Regions from separate parts of the Homo sapiens genome. Here region 2 is linked to region 1. Evidence: promoter capture Hi-C in human tissues and cell types (Jung and others, 2019). All regions are on one chromosome and are shown on one strand. The core of a region is centred on a gene start or on the middle of the fragment in contact, and the rest is flanking DNA. Distances in the headings are between cores, read along the strand shown. Region 1 holds the start of CCDC43 (coiled-coil domain containing 43). Region 2 holds the start of DCAKD (dephospho-CoA kinase domain containing).

Region 1 (6,731 bases), core at 1,660-4,159:
ATGCAAGTACTATTGAAGAGAAGGATGATAAAAGTTTTTGTTTACTGTTATTTGCTCCTAACTATATGCCACTGTTCTTGAATTTTACCTCAGATTATTGCTAACAAACTTCTAAATTCCTCATATTAAATCCTAGCCCAAGTCAGGCACAGAGGCTCACATCTGTAATCTCAGCACTTTGGGAGGCCAAGGCAGGAGGATGTCTTGAGCCCAGGAGCATAAGACCACCCTGAGCAACATGGCAAAACCCTGTCTCTACAAAAAAAAATTTTTTTTTTTTAATTAGCCAGGCATGGCTGGGTGTGGTGGCTCACGCCTATAGCCCCAGCACTTTGAGAGACTGAGATGGGTGGATCACTTGAGGTCAGGAGTTTGAGACCAGCCTGGTCAACATGGTGAAACCCCATCTCTACTAAAAATATAAAAATTAGCCAGGCATGGTGGCATATGCCTGTAATCCCAGCTACTCGGGAGGCTGAGAATCACCTGAACCCAGGAGGCAGAGGTTACAGTGAGCCGAGATTTTGCTACTGCACTCCAGCCTGGGTGACAGAGTGAGACTTTGTCTCAAAAAATAAAACATAAAACATAAAAAAAAAAGTTAGCCAGGCATGATATGTGATGGCAGGTGCCTGTAGTCCTAGCTACTTGGGAGGCTGATGAGAGGGGATTGCTTGAGTCCAGTCGTTCAAGGCTACAGTGAGTTATGATCACATTACTATAACAGAGCGAGACTCTCTTAAAAAAAAAAAAAGGCAAACTAATGTCTACCTTTATCAACAGAAACAGCTCCAAATAATGATGGACTGATCAAGAAGCTGGTACCAAGAAGTCTCAAAGTTATTTCAACAGCTTCATGGAGTGTTTAGAAACTTCCCAGCTGTAAATAAAAACTACCTTAAATTGCTTGCCTCCTACTCTTTCTCCCTATAATCTGTAATGTTGTGGTCCAAAAAAAGAATTGATTCCACTGTCTTGTATTTCCAGTGAACTTCCAAGCTTCCTCACAGGCTGTGTTAAAGTTTTCCCATTTATAAGCCAATCTTGCCAGAAGAGGCTCTGGAACTCAAATGGGTTACTGCCAGAAGAATCTGGGACAGCTGCACTAGTGTTATATTTCAACCATGTACCCAATCTATGAACTGCTTCCACCAAATGTGAGTGATTTTTTCCTAGCACTTGTTTCCGCTTTCACAAAACACTTTTGGATTTGAAAATGTTTCTGCCTTCTACCCTTTTAAAAAAATGAGATATGAATATGTACATTTATATCTATATATATTTATACTAATTTTTTTTTCTTTGAGACAGGGTCACTCTGTCACCCAAGCTGGAGTGCAGTGGCACAATCACGGCTCACTGCAGCCACAGCCTCCTAGGCTCAAGTGATCCTCCCACTTCAGACTTCTGAGTAGCTGGGACTACAGGTATGCGCCACCATACCTGGCTAATTTTTTAAATTTTTTTGTAGAGACAGGGTCTTGCTATGTTGCCCAGTGTGGTGTGGAACTCTTGGCCTCAAGCAATCCTCCCACCTCAGCCTCCCAAAGTGGTGAGATTACAAACATGAGCCACTGTGCCCCACCTCATGGTACATTTTGATTCTATTACTAGCCTTTCAAAATTGGTTTTGAGAATAACAAAGAACCCATTTTTCTAACCTGTCCATTGTAATAAATGCCAGAGGATAAAGCCTTTGATGGACAGACAGGTGGCTCTCACAGTAGCAATCAGGTATCCAGGATCTCCTCTAATCCATGAATGCAGAGACAACTCTAGCTTCTACAGCATTTAGTGATGATTCAAGTAAATTTTATTTTTAAGCTTGTATTTAAAAGGAAACAATTTGTTAGACAGCCACAGGTAGCACCTACAACCAATTTAATCTGTAATAACCAGTCTAATAAGTGTGTATGTTGGAGGTGTGGGAAGTGAAGATGAAGGCAGCAGAAATGATCAGGTTGAAAAAGTGGACATCTGGGTGACTTACTATGTAAACATAGCTTAAAGTACACATTTCTGAATACCTTGCTTCTAACAGGCTAAGGACTAAGTTTCTCTCTCTTCGTTAAAGCTCTGATCTCTCTCATACCCTCCTTCCCACCACCAATGATTACTGTAAATACTGTAATGGATCAAGCACGACGTTTGCTTCAGTTCTGCGTGGGCATGAAAAGACTTCTACCACCAGCTTACCTTTTATGGACTCCTACATCCATATAAGAATCAAAAGGGCACTTCCTGCAGGCTTCTGTCATGGGACAGCCCTGGGAACTGCCTTGTAATAGGCACAGACCTCCCAAGAGCATTTTAATACCCCCAGTGAACACTGTAAACGGATGGAAATGGAATTGGTCGTCAGATATTTATGATAACATTCCCATTCTGACATTTCAATGCCTTCGGAAGAACCCTCCTCGGCTCACTCACAAGCATCGGAGAGGGCCTTGTCCCCAAGAATACGAGAAAGCCCTTCCTCTCTGTGTACCTGCAGCTTTCAGGCTTCCCACACCTGGTTGGGGAGCAACCTCCTTCCCCCGCCGCCCAGATATCAGAGGAGTATACCTCTCCCAGGTGAGACCACTGAGCCTCTGGGATACCCGGTAGGGGAGGGAGGGTGCAAAGTACTGACAGGTCCTCAGATGCTGGCCAGAGGCTGAAGGAATGTGTCCAGGCTACTCACCAGGAAAGCAGAGAGGATCCCCTGCAGAGCGTCCAGCTTCTCTTCTTCCTCCTCCTCCTGCAGGATACCCAAGATGTAGGCTCCATAAACGGCTCGGTCCACTCCCAGTGCCTCCAACCGTCCGTCCAGCCAGGAGCCAAAGCCGCCGCCTCCGCCATCGCCTTCGCCAGGGGCTATCGCGGCCACTTCGCTGGGCGCCGCCATCTTGGGGTCAGGGTCCTGCAAGCCCCTAGGGCGCCTACCGCAGTGCCTGACGGGCCGCGCCGCAGGTCCACCGCGCATGCCTGAAGAGGAAGCCCAGGCCCGTAAGTGCAAAGAGCGCAGCCGTGTCGGCCGGCTTGAGAGTTTTGTGCTTTCTAGATGAAGCGCGTCTTCGCATACGTGCGGTCGCGTGATCTCACAAGATGCTTGGCATGTGAGTATTCTTAACAGACTCATTCTACAGTTCGGGAAGTTGAGAGAGGTGCAGTAATTTGGCCAAAGTCACGCGGCTAATAACTACCCAGGACTGGAGCTCAGCGTGGATGCCATCGCTTCCTCCACCCGACCGAGCTGCCTTCCCCGCGCTTTCGGGGGATGCTGGCCGCCCACTCCCACACAGCTGTCTGGCAAGAACCTCCTGACAGCCTGGAATACCCTCGTCGTCGCTACCGACGGCTACCACCTTCACCTGTACAAGCCCTTCCCTGTCAAAGTAAAGGTTGCAGAAAACCTTCCCTGATTCCATGGTAGGCACTCAGTAAATAAACAGGCAACCTCAAGTTATTTCTTCCACTCATTGATTCAACGCGTGCACGGGACTATTCTTTGAGAAGCGTACCCCACCCTCTGCTAGGCACTGTGCCAAAAGCTTTTCATGCATTATCTCTTGTAATCCTCCCTACAGCCCTGTGGGGAGATGCTTTTATTGTCCACATTTTAAAGATAAGGAGACAGGCCGGGCGCCATGTCTCACGCCTGTAATCCCAACAGTTTGGGAAGCCGAGGCGGGTGGATCACCTGAGGTCAGGAGTTCGAGACCAGCCTGGCCGACATGGTGAAACCCCGTCTCTAGTAAAAATACAAAAATAAGGCCGGGCACGGTGGCTCACTCCCGTAATCCCAGCACTTTGGAAGGCCAAAGTGGGCAGCTCACCTGAGGTCTGGAGTTCGAGACTAGCCTGACCAAAATGGAGAACCCCCGTCTCTACTAAAAATACAAAATTAGCCGGGCGTGGTGGGACATGCCTGTAATCCCAGCTACGTGGGAGGCTGAGGCAGGAGAATCGCTTGAACCCAGGAGGCGGAGGTTGCGGTGAGCAGAGATCGTGCCATTGCACTCCAGCCTGGGCAACAAGAGCGAAATTCCGTCTCAAAACAAACAACAACAACAACAAAAGCCAGGTGTGGTGGCGCGGGCCTGTAATCCCAGCTACTCAGAATCGCTGGAACCCGGAAGGCGGAGGTTGCAGTGAGCCAAGATCGCGCCGCTGCACTCCAGCCTGAGCGACAGTGAGACTCCATCTCAAAAACAAACAAACAAACGAACAAACAAAATCACTAAAGATAAGGAGACAGATATGGAGAGAGTCACACAACTAGAGGGCGCCTAACCAGTGGCAAGAACTCTTCTTTGGCAGAGTTATGAGAGCTTCAGCTGACGTCAAAACACCTGGCTCTGGGCTGGAATGAATTACCCAAGAATTTGGTTGGCTTTAGCTGAAGTGCAGAGGAAGCTGGCAAGGTCCTGGCTAACTCCTTCCTCAAATATGTACTGAGTACCTTCAGTATGGCATTGTTGCTGGCACTGAAAACACAAAAATGAATGTCACAAAATATATGTCCTCAGGGGTTTTTAATCCATTAGGAACAGACATGTTTAAACAAATGATGACAATATAGTGATATAAATGTTTTAATGGAGCTTTATCTAGCGGAGATTGCAGTAGGATGCCTAGAAGATTGAGTTAACTTTACCTGTTGGAGTGGAGTTGGAAGCAGGTGGGGAGAGGTTCATAGGAAATCCAGGAAGGCTTCCCAGTGGAGATGATGCTTGAACTTTCTTGAAGAATGGTAGGAGTTCTTTACATAAAGGGACTGGAGGGAAAAAGGGGGTAGATCCAGATGCAGGGGAACTGTGAATTCAAAGGCTTGCTAGGGGGCCTCCAGAGAGTCATGTATGGCTTGAGCTACAGGATTCAAATAGAAGATATTCAGGGGATAACAACAAAAAAAGAAGGAAAGGAGTTTGTATACCTTGCAGAGGTCCTCTTATTGCAGAGGTCTACCCTTAGTGGCATTGGGATTATGTAAATGAATGGACACTAAATGAATGGCACAGATACAAATGTAAGAAATATGGCAGAGTGTGAATTTTAGTTGCGTGGCTTCTGTGTGCTCGCTGAGTTAGATAGAATGTGACACTAACAGAGTCAGAGGCCAGAGTCAGCCTCCAAAGGCTTGCCTCTTTTTCAAGTCCTCAGTTATTCTTTCTAATCTAGTAGCTGTCTTGCAGGTAGGGCTTGTCAGTTCACAGACCTGGGTGCCATCATGGCTCAAGGATGATAGCTGGTCAGTGCAGAGCCCCCAAACCAGAAAAACATCACAAAATTTTGTTTTTTAGAAATACAGCCTCACAAGAAGTTTCAAAAATAGTACATAGAGTCCTGCACACCTTCACCCAGTTTCCCCCAATAGTAACATCAAACATAAAGACAGTATAATAGTAAATCAGGAAATTGATATAGGTATTATGCAATAAGGTTTTTTTGGTTTTTGTTTTGAGGTGGAGTCTCACGGTTGTCGTCCAGACTGGAGTGCAGTGGTATGATCTCAGCTCACTACAACCTCCGTCTCCTGGGTTCAAGCAATTCTCCTGCCTCACCCTTCCATGTAGCTGGGATTACAGGCACCCAGCACCACACCCGGCTAATTTTTTTCCTATTTTTAGTAGAGATAGGGTTTTGCCATGTTGGCCAAGCTGGTCTCAAACTGCTGATCTCAGGTGATGCACCTGCTTCGGCATCCCAAAGCGCTGGGATTACAGGCATGAGACACTGCTCCTGGCCATAATGCAATAAGGTTTTTTGAAAGCATCAACAAGCTTCTCAAAAACTGAATCAAGGTTCTCCAGACCCTAAATTTTAAGAATATCCTCAATGGCTATTTTACTACAAAAGTAACATAGCTCATGCTTTAAAAAATATTATATAAGGCCAAGCACGGTGGCTCACGCCTGTAATCCCAGCACTTTGGAAGGCCAACGCGGGTAGATCAACTGAGGTCGGGAGTTCGAGACCAGCCTGGCCAACTGGTGAAACCCCATCTCTACTAAAAAAATACAAAAAAATGGCCCTGCGCGGTGGCTCACACCTGTAATCCCAGCACTTTGGGAGGCCGAGGCGGGCAGATCACGAGGTCAGGAGATCGAGACCATCCTGGATAATAGGTGAAACCCCGTCTCTACTAAAAATACAAAAAAAAATTAACTGGGTGTGGTTGCGGGCGCCTATAGTCCCAGCTACTAGGGAGGCTGAAGCAGGAGAATGGCGCGAATCCGGGAGGCAGAGCTTGCAGTGAGCCGAGATCTGACCACTGCTCTCCAGCCTGGGCAACAGAGTGAGACTCCATCTCAAAAAAAAACAAAAAAAACAAAAAAATTAGCCAGCTATGGTGGTAGGCGCATGTAATCCCAGTTACTTGGGAGGCTGAGGCAGGAGAATTGCTTGAAACCAGGAGGCGGAGGTTACAGTGAGCTGAGATTACGCCATTGTACTCCAACCTGGGCAACAAGGGCAAAACTCTGTCTCAACAAAAAAAAAGAAAAAATTATATAAATGGATAAGCGACAAATTGAAAGCTTACAAAAAATAAAATACGCAAATTAAGATTGCAGTGAAATACCACGTCCGCTTTTCAGATCAAAAAAGTCTGATAATATGCTGTATTGAACTGTGCTTGGGTAAAAGACATTGGAAAATGTTAGAGCAGAAAGTAAATGGATCTGGTCTTGTTGGAGGACTGTTTGTTTGAAAAGACCCAGCATTTCTGCTTCTGGGAATTTGTTCAT
Region 2 (6,993 bases), core at 1,147-3,646, 360 kb after region 1:
GCCGGGGCAACATAGCAAGACCTCGTCTCTACTAAAAATAAAAAGAAAAATCAGCCATATGTGGTGACAGACACCCGTACTCTTAGTTACTTTGGTGGCTAAGGTGGGAGGATTGAGCTCAGCAGGTCAAGGGTGCAGTAACCAGTGACTGCCACTGCACTCCAGCTTGAGCAACAGAGCAAGATCCCATCTCGGAAAAAATAAAGGAAAAAAAGAACGATTTGAAATTTCGATGGTTAAATAAAAAGTGGTTCTTTTTTTTTTTTTCAAAAGATGAGGGAAATCAAATCAAATGGTGTATATTTAGACTTCACTGCAGGTTTAAATGAGGATTTTAACAGCTTTATTTTAAAATATCAACATTCACAATTAACCAGAACTTTTATCCTCTGTAATCTTCAAAATAAAAATGTGAAAGTTTCAATCTAAAGCTATCAATCTAAAACTGTGCCAGCAGGTAATTTTCTTTTTCTTTTCCTTTTTTTTTTTTTTTTTTTTTTTGAAACAGAGTCTTGCTCTTGTCACCCAGGCTGGAGTGCAGTGGCACGATCTCAGCTCACTGCAACCTCTGCTTCCTGAGTTCAAGTGATTCTCCTACCTCGACCTCCTGAGTAGCTGGGATTGCAGGCACCCGCCACCACACCCAGCTAATTTTTTTGTATTTTTAGTAGAGATGGAGTTTCACCATGTTGGCCAGGCTGGTCTCAAACTCCTGACCTCAGGTGATCTGCCTGCCTCAGCCTCCCAAAATACTGGGATTACCAGGCGTGAGCCACCGCGCTCGGCCTCCCAGCAGGTAATTTTTTCTTTCTTTCTTTCTTTTGAGAAGGAGTCTCACTCTCTTGCCCAGGCTGGAGTGCAGTGGCACGATCTCGGCTCACTGCAACCTCAGCCTCCCGGGTTCAAGCGATTTTTCTGCCTCAGCCTCCCGAGTAGCTGGGACTACAGGCATGCACCACCATGTCCGGCTAATTTTTTTGCATTTTTAGTTGACACGGGGGTTTCACCATGTTGACCAGGCTGGTCTCGAACTCCTAACCTCGGGTGATCCACCCTCCTCAACCTACCAAAGCGCTGGGATTACAGGCGTGAGCCACCGTGCCCGGCCCAGAGGGTAATTTTCAAAACAAAGCTAAGTTCGTGGCTTGCCTGCCTTCAGCTATCAGCCCTCTTCTTCTCTCCTTAAGGTACAGGCACCAAGAGGGGCTCGGAGACCATTTAAACGTTATTTACCAAGGGGACAGATTCAGACCTTGGTGAAGACAGACAGAGGAGGATTTGGTGGGAATTTAGGGCCCTGCTGAGACAAAAACCACCCGAACCCGTCTGTCCACTTTCTATCCATCTACCAGATCTCTAGCATTTCACCCCTTTCCCCAGGCCTATGCCAGCACTGTGCCACACCAACTCAATCTTGATTTATTCAGGTAAAATGAGCACTCTCCCTCCTGCAAAAACAAACACGTTTAAGACATAAAACATATTCAAAGGCTTCCATTTCCTCACCGTTAGAATTGAGACTTAATGTCAAAGTTCACTTGGGTAGGTTGAATCATTTTCCCACAACTAAGGGAGAGTGAAAAATCTTTGAAAACTCTGTAAGCAAACACCTGAAATGCCAACGCCTCCTTTGCGGAGCTGGGGAAGGAAGAGACGGGTGGCCGGATGGCCTCCCTCACTAGTTGGTGGGCGTGAGATCCACGCCGCCCCAGTCCCGGGGGCCTTCACTAAAACCTTAACTGGCCTCCCAGGGGAGAGGGAAGCGGAGGAGAGGGGTCTGAAAATCGGAGATGATCACTCAGCTCAACAGTAAAGCACTTTATACCCACCCTATGGGACAGATACTGTAGCTTTATTCCCATTTTTCAGATGAGCAAACTTGGGATCGGAAAGATACCCCAAGGTCACACAACTGAAGTGGCAGAAGCTAGATTCAAGAATCAATCGGCCCGCAAAGTTCTAAAGGGCAGTGGCTTTGGTCTGATCCTGAGTTTGAATCCACAATCTCCAGCCCTTTCTAGCTGTAAACCTTCCTGCGCGTCCTCAGCCGTAAAACAGAGGAAATAACACGTTGCTTGGTAGGGTTGCTGTCAAGACAATGGGCCGTGGATATAAAAGCACTTGCCTTAGTGCTGGCCGCATACGACGCGCTCAATACATCGTAACTCAGGCTTTCAAAAGAGGCCCGTACGCCCCACTAGGCCGCGAAATTGGGTCGCCCGGGGCGGTGGCAGCCCCGCGTAGCAGCCGCGGCCAGGGCCCGCCCCCTCCCCGGCGCCCGGCTGGCTCTCACCGGCCCGCGTGGCGCGCTACGTACCCAGCGCCTCCGCCGTGGCCCAGGCCTCCGCCTCTAGCCCAATCTCCGCAGCGCTTACAGGCCGGCTCAGCGGGCGAGGCGGGACCTCGGGAGCGCGCGCCTGCAGACCGGACGTCCGGCCAGCAGGCGGGGCCGGGAGAGGTTGGACGGGCGGGGCCGGGAGAGGTTGGGTGGGCGGGCGGGGCCGGGAGAGGTTGGGCGGGCGGGCGGGCGGGGCCGGGAGAGGTTGGGCGGGCGGGCGGGCGGGGCCGGGAGAGGTTGGGCGGGCGGGCGGGCGGGGCCGGGAGAGGTTGGGCGGGCGGGCGGGCGGGGCCGGGAGAGGTTGGGCGGGCGGGCGGACGCGGGAGAGGTTGGGCGGGCGGGCGGACGCGGGAGAGGTTGGGCGGGCGGGCGGACGCGGGAGAGGTTGGGCGGGCGGGCGGACGCGGGAGAGGTTGGGCGGGCGGGCGGACGCGGGAGAGGTTGGGCGGGCGGGCGGACGCGGGAGAGGTTGGGCGGGCGGGCGGACGCGGGAGAGGTTGGGCGGGAGAGGTTGGGCGGGAGGGCGGCCGGACGGACGCGGGAGAGGCCGGCGGGGAGAGCTCGGCCCCGGAGCACGGCACAGAGGTCCCCCGCAACCCCCGACCCGGAGCCATAAATTTTCCTTTCCCCGGAGCCGGGAAGGAGAGGGAGAGAGAGGAGAGGGGCAAAACTGCAGGGTCCTAACTTCGGATATAAAGCTCGGCCACTCGCTACTTGTGCAGCCTTGGCAGAGGTGATCATGAGCACTTTCCACCTGCCAGGTCCTAAGAGCACTTTGTGGGATTATCTCAGCCCGCACAGTCCGCAGGGTGGATACTATCATCATCCCCATTTTACACAACAGGAAACTATGTTTAGCGGTTAATCCATTTGCCCTCTCATACAAAGTCATGTGATTGCAGAGCCCGCATCCTGTCCATACAAGCCTAGCAAGCCACTCAGCCTCTCATCCTGTCTCCTCTCAAAGTGGGGATAATCGCAGCCGTGCAGCGTTGTTGAAAGAATACATAAAAGCCGGGCACGGTGGCTCACACCTGTAATCTCAGCACTTTGGGAGGATCACTTGAGCCCAGGAGTTCGAGACCAGCCTAAACAAGAGTGAGACTAACCCCCGATCTCTACAAAAAAAAAAAACAAAAAACAAACTAGCCAGGCATGGTGACAGTGTGGTCTCATTTACTCGGGAGGCTGAGGCAGGAGGATGGCTTGAGCCCAGGAGGTCAAGGCTGCAGAGAGCCATGATGGTACCACTGCACTCCAGCCTGGGCAACAAAACGAGACCTTGCCTCAAAAAAAATAAAGCATCTAGGCCGGGCGCTGTGGCTCACGCCTGTAATCCCAGCACTTTGGGAGGCCAAGGCGGGTGGATCACCTGAGGTCAGGAGTTTGAGACCAGCCTGGCCAACATGGCAAAATCCCGTCTCTACTAAAAATACAAAATTAGCCGGGCGTGGTGGTGAATGCCTGTAATCCCAGCTACACGGGAGGCTGAGGCAGGAGGATTGCTTGAACCCGGGAGGTGGAGGTTGCAGTGAGCCCAAGATCCGGTCACTGCACTCCAGCCTGGGAGACTACAGCAAGACTCTGTCTCCAGTTAAAAAAAAAAAAAAAAAAAAAAAAAAACTAGTTATCTAGTTATGCCTCACATATAGCAGGAAGTTGTTTTTGTTTTTTTTTTGTTTGGTTTGTTTGTTTGTTTGTTGAGACAGAGTTTCGCTCTATTGCCCAGGCTGGGGTGCAGTGGCAGGATCTTGGCTCACTGCAGCCTCTGCCTCCCAGGTTCAAGCGATTCTCCTGCCACAGCTTCCCGAGTAGCTGGGACTAGAGGTGTGCGCCACCACATCCAGCTAATTTGTTTTGCTTTTGAGATGGAGTTTTGCTCTTGTTGCCCAGGCTGGAGTGCAGTGGCATGATCTCGGCTCACTGCAACCTCTACCTCCCGGGTTCAAGCGATTCTCCTGCCTCAGCCTCCCAAGTAGCTAGGATTACAGGCATGTACCACCACACTCGGCTAATTTTGTATTTTTAGTAGAGATGGGGTTTCACCACGTTGGCCGGGCTGGTCTGGAAATCCTGACCTAGGTGATCCACCCACCTCGGCCTCCCAAAGTGCTAGGATTACAGGCGTCAGCCACCATGCCCAGCACATCTGGCTAATTTTTGTATTTCTAGTAGAGATGGGGTTTGGCATGTTAGCCAGGCTGGTCTCAAACTCCTGACCTCAGGTGATCCACCCACCTCGGCCTCCCAAAGTGCTGGGATTATAGGCATGAGCCACGGTGCCTCACCAGCAGGAAGTTTTTAATTAACACCTACCCTGTCTCCCTTCCCTTTCCTTAAACTGTATCTCTATTCTCTACTTCCTTTAAGGTAGGAATCTTGCCTATCTACTACTACAATACCCAGTGCCCTGCACAGTAGGGATTCAGTATATTGAGGAATTAAGTAATTTAACATCTTTCTCAGATCACCTGAGTCCCTGAAAGCTTTCTTCCTGACTTCAACAGTCAAGGAGACCTACTGCCATCACCCAATAAAAAGGATTCCATCTTGTGTCCAAAAGGGCCATTTGGTACAAACACCCTGCCAGTATTTGAATCTCTTCCACATTATCTCTGCCATGTATACATGTACATGTCCCATGTTGGGGAACTCACTGCCACTCAAGACAGTTTTATTTATTTTTTTTTTTGAGACAGAGTCTGGCTCTGTTGCCTAGGCTGGAGTACAATGGCGTGATCTCAGCTCACTGCAACCTCCGCCTCCCGGGTTCAAGTGATTCTCCTGCCTCAGCTTCCCTAGTAGCTGGGATTACAGGTGCCTGCCACCATGCCAGGCTAATTTTTACATTTTTAGTAGAGATGGGGTTTCACCATGCTGGCCATGCTGGTCTCGAACTCCCAACCTCAGGCGATCTGCCTGCCTCAGCCTCCCAAAGTGCTGGGATTACAGGTGTGAGCCACCACACCTGGCTGACAGTTGTTATTTTTTCAAGTCCAGTCTTGGCAGTTAGAAAGTTCTTTCTTAGGCAGTATCTCTCCTAGTTTTAAACCGTGGGGCCATACAGAACAAATCTAATTCTATTTTATAGAGCCAGATTTAATGGCTCAATTCCCTTCCTTGATCAAACAATGTATAGCTAACCTAATCCTGTGGTTCTCACCCTTTTCCCTACTCCTGACACATCCAAGGGATACCCAGACTCCCACCAGTAATCATGGCTGGCCAAGACAGGGATAGGAACAGGCCTGGCCTGTCCCCCCAAATTATCTGGATCTTCCTGGGACACAGTGTTAGGAAACCGTCCAGATGACCCTACTTTTCTCAGATACTGCCTTACAGTATTATAACTATTCATGTACAAGTGAGAGCCTTGTCTTCCAAGGAGGTATCCTTGTGGTCCGATTTGCCAAAAGCAGCTGCACCTCTGCCCCAGGAAGATCCCATAGGAAAGGGTGAAGGGCTGCTACAGGGCCTTCAACCCAGGCACCTCCTCCATAATGAAACTTGGGCTTTGGAGTTTCCATGTGATGCCATCAAGGGCTTTTTCAGCTCAAATATATGTCTTTCATGATTCAGGATGGCAATAAGAAACTTTGAGCTGGCTGTAGCTACTTACACAATCTCATTTTATCCTGAGAGTGGCCTGCATCTCAGTCACCTCTGTGTCCTTAGCATTTAGCATGATGCCTGGAATACAGTTCTGCTTCTCATTTTGTTTGATGAACAACCCTGAGTCCATTAGAGATGACTCCTTTGGCTCCTGGTTTTAAATTTATTTTCTGTACGTTTATTTATTTATTTATTTATTTATTTATTTTTGAGACAGGGTCTCACTCTGTTACCCAGGTTAGTGCAGTGGCACGATCTTGGCTCACTGTGACCTCTGCCTCCCAGGCTCAAGTGATCCTCCCATCTCAGCCTCCCACTGAATAGCTGGAACCACAGGCACACACTCCTCACTTTCTAAGCTCCAGTCCTAAGTCATATCATTCTCATTGCCATACCTCAAAAGCACCCAAGTCTCAGGCACCTGGACTTTCTACCTAGAAGGTCCACCCCAGTTTGTTTACTGTCCTGATGAACATTCAGCTAAGCCACCATGTCCCCCCAGGATCTCCTGCCTCTGGACAGCCTGTGCTCCCCACTTTCTTAGGCACTGTGCTAGAACTGTTCTACCCCTGACTCTCCAGTTCCTGCCATAGAGGCTGACAAGTCATCAGTGTTCCCGAGGTTGGAATAAATGAATCACAATCTATCTCATGGCTTCGTAGGTCCACCAGAAGAAAGGTTATATGTGGCCGGGCACAGTGGCTCACACCTGTACTCCCAGCACTTTGGGAGGCCAAGGCAGGGGATCACCTGAGGTCAGGAGTTTGAGACTAGCCTGGCCAACATGGTGAAACCCCTTCTCTACTAAAAATACAAAAAATTAGCCAGGCATGGTGGCTCGCACCTGTAATCCCAGCTACTCAGGAGGCTGAGGCAGGAGAATCGCTTGAACTCAGGAGGCAGAGGTTGCAGTGAGGAGAGATTGCACCATTGCACTCCAGCCTAGGCAAAAAGAGCAAAGCTCCGTCTCAAAAAAAAAAAAAAAAGAAGGTTATCTCTGACATGCTGGAAGTACAGCAAAGGCCTTGATCTGTGATGGACAT

The links. Contacts are between HindIII fragments. The study calls those that stand out against the background at their distance.
Region 2: the fragment with the promoter of DCAKD here is called in contact with the fragment with the promoter of CCDC43 in region 1 in 1 of the 25 tissues and cell types used here (dorsolateral prefrontal cortex).

The regions. Positions count from the first base shown.
Region 1 is chr17:44,686,867-44,693,597 of GRCh38, forward strand. It overlaps CCDC43 (coiled-coil domain containing 43), which reads right to left and starts at 2,910. Exons shown (of 5, transcript NM_144609.3): 1 at 2,684-2,910. The coding sequence starts at 2,887. It overlaps LOC105371792 (a long non-coding RNA gene), which reads left to right. Exons shown (of 4, transcript XR_007065769.1): 2 at 988-1,157; 3 at 1,312-1,427; 4 at 2,075-2,147. LOC124904010 (a long non-coding RNA gene) reads left to right here and starts at 2,915. Exons shown (of 2, transcript XR_007065770.1): 1 at 2,915-2,988; 2 at 3,129-3,444. RefSeq lists enhancers at 2,643-3,232, 2,901-3,040. The HindIII fragment of the contact is 3,238 bases long and covers 1,412-4,649 here.
Region 2 is chr17:45,049,236-45,056,228 of GRCh38, forward strand. It overlaps DCAKD (dephospho-CoA kinase domain containing), which reads right to left and starts at 2,397. Exons shown (of 5, transcript NM_001288655.2): 1 at 2,126-2,397. RefSeq lists a silencer at 2,038-2,537. The HindIII fragment of the contact is 12,750 bases long and covers 1-6,993 here.